Regions from separate parts of the Homo sapiens genome. Here region 1 is linked to region 2. Evidence: promoter capture Hi-C in 16 types of primary human blood cells and fetal thymus (Javierre and others, 2016). All regions are on one chromosome and are shown on one strand. The core of a region is centred on a gene start or on the middle of the fragment in contact, and the rest is flanking DNA. Distances in the headings are between cores, read along the strand shown. Region 1 overlaps LOC105370050 (a long non-coding RNA gene). Region 2 holds the start of CCDC92 (coiled-coil domain containing 92).

Region 1 (3,154 bases), core at 240-2,739, 890 kb before region 2:
TATGAGATGTGGTGATCTTGTGGGCCATGGTGAGGGCTTTGGCTTTTATGCTGAATGAGGTGGGAGCCACGGAAAGGTTTCTTTCTTTTTGTTTTCTTGAGAGACAGGGTCTCACTGTGTTGCCCAGGCTGGAGTGCAGTGACACAATCACAGCTCACTCACTGCAGCCTCGACTTCCTGGGCTCACGTGATTCTCCCACCTCAGCCTCCTCAGTAGCTGAAACTAGAGGTGTGTGCCACTTTACCTGGCTAACTTTTTATTTTTTGTAGAGATGGTGTCTGGCTGTGTTGCCCAGGCTGATCTCGAACTCCTGGCCTCAAGGGATCCTCCTGCCTCAGCCTCCAAAAGCACTGGGATTATAGGCATGGGCCACCATGCCTGGCCATTTCTTTAAAATAACAGTTTTCATTGAGATATAATTTGCATATCATACATTCACCCATTTAAAGTATATAATTTGGCCAGGCATGATGGCTCACACTTGTAATCCCAGCGCTTTGGGAGGCCAGGGTGGGAGGATGACCAGAATTTTGAGAGCAGCCTGGGCAACAAAGTGAGACCCTGTCTCAACAAAAATGAAAACATCAGGTGTACATAGTGGCATATACTTGTTGTCCAAGCTAGTCAGGAGGCCGAGGCGGGAGGATGGTTTGAACCCAAGACTTCAAGACTGCACTCCAGCCTGGGTGACAGAGTGAGACCCTGTCTCTTGAAAAAAAGAAAAAGTAAATAAAGTGTGTAATTTGATGGTTTTTTGTATATTCACGGAGTTGTGCAACCATCATTACCATCACTTTTACCGTCACTTTTAGAACATTTTCACCACTCCAAGATGAAACCCCAAACCTGTAGCAGTCACTCCTCATTCTCCCCAGCCCCTGGCAACCACTGGTCTACTTTTTGTCCCCATAGATGTGCCTACTATGGACATTTTATATAAGCAGAATCATACATGTGGCCTTTGTGTCTGGCTTCTTTCACTTATCAATGTTTTCAAGGTTCATCCATGGTGTAGCACGCGTCAGCCCTTCATTCCTTTTTATGCTGAGTCATATTCCAGTGCGTGGTTATGCCACATTTTATTTACCTATTCACCAGCTGATGGGGGTGTGGGTTATTTTCACTGCTTGGCTGCTGTGAACATTTGTGTCCAGGCTTCCGTGTGGACATGCTCTTTCCTTTCTCCTGGGCATATACCCAGGAGTGGAACTGCTGGGTCTTAGGGGACCCCTATGTTTACCTTTTGAGGCTGCACCATTTTACAATCCCACAAGCACCTCAAGAGGCTTCCAACTCCTCCAGGTCTTTGCCTGCAGTCATTCTCCGTCTTTGATCACGAAAGGACTCTGAGCAGAGGAGGAAAAGCATCTGACTTGATTTTCCAGGAGCCCTGTGACACCATGTTGATCATATTTTGTTATCAGCACTCTTTCTTTTCTTCTGTATCTTCGACTTTCCCCAGGGCAAGACCTCTCTCTCAAACATGACGAAGTCTTTTTTTCCCTTCTTAAGCTGCCCTCCCTGCCACCGGAAGTGACTCCCCTCAGCAAGGCCAAGGTGGCTCACGTGTCCCATCACCCTTTCATCTCTGCCCTTCTCTCTCGAGTGACAGCATGGCGTGACATGAGGGCTCTCCAGCCATGGCCTTGCAGCCCTCTTGGGTAAGCATCACGTACATTTGGACCTTGAAGACTTGGTCATGAATCAGAGTTAGATTGGGTGAGATGGTCAAGGCAGGTCAGTATCAAGGAAGTGGAGGAGGGTGTCAGGGCCAGGCAGACCGCAGATTTTAGTTAACTGGCTAATTTCCGAGAACTACAAAAGTCATTAAAAAAAAAGGCAACTGCATAGCTGAAGGCTGTTGAAGGCCTTAAGGAATTCAATGAAGTGATATTAATTAATTAATCAATCGATCAGTTACTTGATTAATTAATGAGTTAATTAGCTGATTGAGTAAAGTATTTATTGAGTACCTGCTATGTGCCAGGCATTTTTCCAGGTGCTGGAGATACATCGATAAGCAAAACAGGGTCAGCTTCTGTCTCTCGGGAGCTGGAGGAGATGAACAAGGAAACAGATAAGACCATTTCACACAAAGCAAGGTGGCCTGACAGAGTGGGCTGGGACTCCTGTTTTCAACAGATGCAACAGCAAAGGCTTCTCTGAGGAGTGGGTTTCAGCTGAGCCCAGAAGAGGAGAGTGGGGAGCCATGGAAGGATCTAGGGGAAGCGTATCCTAGACAGAGGAACAGGAAGTGCAAAGTTCCTGACACAAGAAAAAGCTGGGGATGCTCAATGAACTGAAACAATGGGGGAGAGGGCAGGAGATGGAGGCAGAGAGATGGGCAGGCGCCAGTTCATGTGGGTCCGGAAAATAACGACGACACTCCCCAGCTCAGTTGCACTGACACATTCCAGGGACTGTTCTAAGCACTGGCACATTTTTTGACTTGTTTAATCCTCATGGTAGCCCTTGGAAAGGGGCTCTTCTAATCCCCGTTTCGTAGATGAGGAGACTGAGGCACAGAAAGGCCCAAACCACTTGCCCCAGGACTCCAATGTGGGAAACCCCAGAGCCTGGATTTCTCTGAACCTGTCCCCCGGGGCTACCACAGTCTCACCTCAGCCACTCTGACCTCCCTCAGGAGTTGGGCCCTGCCCCTTGGGGCACTGGACCATATTCGGCCTCCTTAGAGGAAGGCAGTGCCAGGCAAAGCTGTCTAACGAGAACATAGCAGGTGCTCTGTAAATATTGGTTCAGGCGAAGACATGTTGCTTAAGGATGGCCCTGCGAGAAGGCTGCTTTCTTCTGGAGTTAAATAAGAGGTTTAGAAAGCCTCCCTCGGAGCACTCAAGGACTGAGCCTGCCTTACCCACGTGCTGGGGACACCACCCTCCTGTCCCTGTGTAACCCAGGAGTCTCTTCTCAGTAACTTCATTCAGAAAATGAGGGGACTGGCCAGCACTTCAGGGACCAGAAGGCAGGCCAGGTGGGGTGTGGTGGAGGACTTCAGGGGGGCGTGGAGGGCTTCAGGGATACACTCACCCATCTAAGGGCAACTGCCACTTAGTGCCAGCCCACTTCTCTCCCTTTTTTCTTTTTTCTTTTTCCCCCAGGGTCTTGCTGTCACCCAGGCTGGAGTGCGGTGGTAAG
Region 2 (3,054 bases), core at 266-2,765:
TTCGGTATCTGGTCTCCTTTGTTGCAATAAGACAGCCCGTAAGCAATCTAGCAACCAGAACAGTTCAGTTCGGAGCAGGCTCCCGGGGAGATTTAGTTGTTAGAGTTCGGCAAGAAAGGTTTCACAAAGGAGCTGAGTTCTGGGGGAAATGAGAGGTGATGTGGCGGAGAGATGGATCCGGACGGGAAAATGTCTGGGAGGGGGTATACGGAGTTCATGAGAAGCCGGGGACAGTGAGAAAACTGCAGTCGAGTCCTGGAAGGGGTGAGAACGCCTGCGGAGGCGGGAGTCAGAGGGAAGTGGACAGCGCCGGCAGCCGGTTTACCTGGGTGAGAATCCGGCCCTTGTTGTGGTCAAACAATGGAGGCGTCCGGCGGCAGCAGCCTTCTGCGCTGGGTGCGCGAGGGGTTCCTCATCACCTGAGCGGGATGCTCGCCTCCTCTGCCGGACGCAGGGCGCCCTGAAAAACACACAGCACCCCATGCAGCCGGCTCCTCCGCAGCCGCCCGGCTCCCCGGTCCCCTGGCGCGGCCATGACCGCCTCTCCCGGGACCCGCCTGGAAGGGCTCCAAGACGCGGCTCCACGGGCGACGAGGGCGGCAGCGCTCCCCCTTCCCTCGGCTCCAACAACAATGGAGCCTGGCTCGGGAGTCCGGCTCCCGAGGGGCCTCGCCCGGCCTCGCCCTGCCCGCTGCCCAGCCCTCGCTCGCACCGGCCGCCATCTGCGCCCCCCGGCCCCGCTCCCCCGCACTGCGGGCCCGCGGCCGACCGCCCGAGGCCCGAGGGGCGGCTTCTCAGCCCGGGACCCGCCAGGCTGCGCGGAGCCGCTCTGACCTTCCCCGCCATCCCGAGGCCCATCCTCCGGGATGGGTTGTTTTTCTTTTCTTTAAGCCACTCCACCTCCTTCCCACCCCCAGCCCGCTCCCTGGCCCCCGGCCCCCGCCTCCCTCCGGGAAAGAAAGAAAGACTGCAGCCCGGCCGCCGAGAACTCACTCCAAGTGAGGGGAGTCAGCGCCCCAGGCCGCGGGCGCCGCGCACCCACCTCCCTCTCCTCAGGGACACCTCACAGGTGCGCCTCCGAGCCGCGCGCGCGCGCGCTCCGCACACCCAGACGCCTCCGGGGGACAGCGCGCGTGCGCACGCACGAGGCCGGGGAAGCCCCGGGGGAGCGGGGGCCGCACGCATGCGCGGCCACCCGGCCCGCGCCCCCACCGCCCGCCTCCGCCCCCGCCCCCCAGCCCCGGCCCGGTCGGGCCCGGCCATCCCCCACCCCAGCGCCCGGCGCGCGCGCTCCCGCTCGCCTCCCTCGCTCCTCCCCGCGCCCCCCCCTCCCTCGGGCCGCGTTACCCAGGGCAACCGCAGTGCGGCCGCACCTGAGCTGTGCGCCTGCGTCCCGCGGGCCCGACCCTCCCTTCCCCTCGGCCTTCGCCCCTGCCCCGCCACAGCCGGGCGGAAGGGGGCGTAGCCCCGCCTCGCCAAGTGAATATCGGCCCGCCGCCCCCGCCCAGCCCGGCAGACACAGGCCCGCCGCCGCGCCGGCGCCTAGCCCGCCGGGTCAGCGCGGCCAGGCCTCGCCGCCGGCCCCGCTCCCAGGGTGCACCGCGGCTAGCGCTGGGGTGGGAGCGGGCGAGATGCGCCGGGCGGGCGGTGCCCACTGACCTCCCTCGGCGGCCCGGCCCGGGCAGCGCCCGAGCCCAGGCAGCCCCGCCCGCCGCGCCCCGCCCAGCCCATGGGCCACGGGCCCCCACCGCCGCCCGCCGGGAGGACCGAGCCTAAGAGGGCAGCCGCCTGAAGGAACGCGACGGCGGCGCCCGCAGGTGAGGCGGGGCCCGGGGTGTGTCGAGTCCGGCCCCGCTCACCTGGCAGCGCCGGCGGGGGCGGAGGGGCCGGGCAGGGGCGGAGGGGCCGGGCAGGGACGGGAGTTCGTGGCGAAGACTTTAAAAACCCTCCCCGCCGGGAGACGGGGGACGGGGTCCTCCTGCCCCACCTCCGGGGCTTGGGAGCCACGTTAGCTCCCCCAGGGGCAGGGGTGGCCCCGGGCGAAGGCAACTCGGGAGACGGCGGAGTCGGGGAAAGAGGGTCCCTGAGGCTCGGCGACCCCCGCGCCCGCCCCCGCGGGGTCTGCCGGCCCTTTCTGGGGAGGGGGCTCCCCGGCCCGGGCTCCAGTCCAGGGTGCGGACCGGCCGCGGCGCGCGCCCACCCCAGTGCCAAGGGGGAGGAGAGGCCGGTCCCGGGGCGCTCCTGTCTGCCCCGGGGTGGGATCGCAGGGCGAGGGATCCGCATTGCAGGTGCACCAGGAGCGCCCCGGGGCCTAGCCCGGCTTTGTCTGGGATGCTGTGGGGAGGAGGCCGTCTGAATCCACATCGCCTTTTTAAATGCTTGTTACCACCCGGGGAACCTTAGAGACCCTCCCTGACAAGTTGTATCGCCTCCCGTCCTGGTAGCCTTTCCGTAAGTACACTACCTTGCCAGCCCCTTCCTGAAGCTTTGATGCGGCTTTAGTTTACTCTGAGTAACGATTTGCCTGTGATTCGTGAAACGGAGCAGAATGCACAAACGCAGCAGAGCTCCAGGCTTGGCTACTGGGCTGCCGTCTGCTACGGCGAGTGAGTTTCTCTAACTTAGGTTTTCATGCTGACCTGTATTGTTTCATTTCAAGTTTTGGTATTTAGCAGTACGATCTAGTCCACTAAGGAAAATTAGGCTGCCAGAGAGAAAATATAACCGCGCTCTGTAGCTTAGGTTGCAGTAGTCGGTTTTATAACAAAATGCAAGCTACCACGCTGTAATACTTTAACATATTACGCAGTTCCAGAAACCTGTAAGAGTATTAAAACTAGGATTGCCATTTTAAAACTTTTACGTTTGAAATTTATTTAAAGAGCATTGGTATTGATAAAACGACTTTTCTTTTTTTTTTTTTTTGCTCATCAAGAATTCCCATGCATTTTCTCGCTATTGCATTGTAAGGAAAAAGATGCTAACGTTTAAAGTGGCTTTTACCTCCAAAGATGTTTTGAAATGTATGTAATTCTTTTGGCTAACTGTTCATCT

Evidence for each region. The method cuts DNA at HindIII sites, captures the fragments that hold promoters and counts their contacts. A CHiCAGO score of 5 or more calls a contact.
Region 1: a contact is called between a fragment that was not itself captured here and the fragment with the promoter of CCDC92 in region 2, in 3 of 17 cell types (total B cells, activated CD4 T cells and monocytes). The highest score is 6.5, in total B cells.

The regions. Positions count from the first base shown.
Region 1 is chr12:124,865,497-124,868,650 of GRCh38, reverse strand. LOC105370050 (a long non-coding RNA gene) reads right to left here. Exons shown (of 3, transcript XR_945488.3): 1 at 3,047-3,154; 2 at 1,975-2,053. Among named protein-coding and RNA genes, the nearest start is that of SCARB1, 3.2 kb to the right of the region's middle. RefSeq lists enhancers at 955-2,154, 2,583-2,752. The HindIII fragment of the contact is 4,035 bases long and covers 1-3,154 here.
Region 2 is chr12:123,971,292-123,974,345 of GRCh38, reverse strand. It overlaps CCDC92 (coiled-coil domain containing 92), which reads left to right and starts at 1,515. Exons shown (of 5, transcript NM_025140.3): 1 at 1,515-1,817. It overlaps ZNF664-RFLNA (ZNF664-RFLNA readthrough), which reads right to left and starts at 1,131. Exons shown (of 5, transcript NM_001347902.2): 1 at 1,043-1,131; 2 at 326-460. ZNF664 (zinc finger protein 664) reads right to left here and starts at 1,131. Exons shown (of 5, transcript NM_152437.3): 1 at 994-1,131; 2 at 326-460. RefSeq lists silencers at 563-792, 903-982, 1,053-1,922, 1,953-2,072 and enhancers at 1,293-2,030, 2,031-2,768. The HindIII fragment of the contact is 3,963 bases long and covers 1-2,487 here.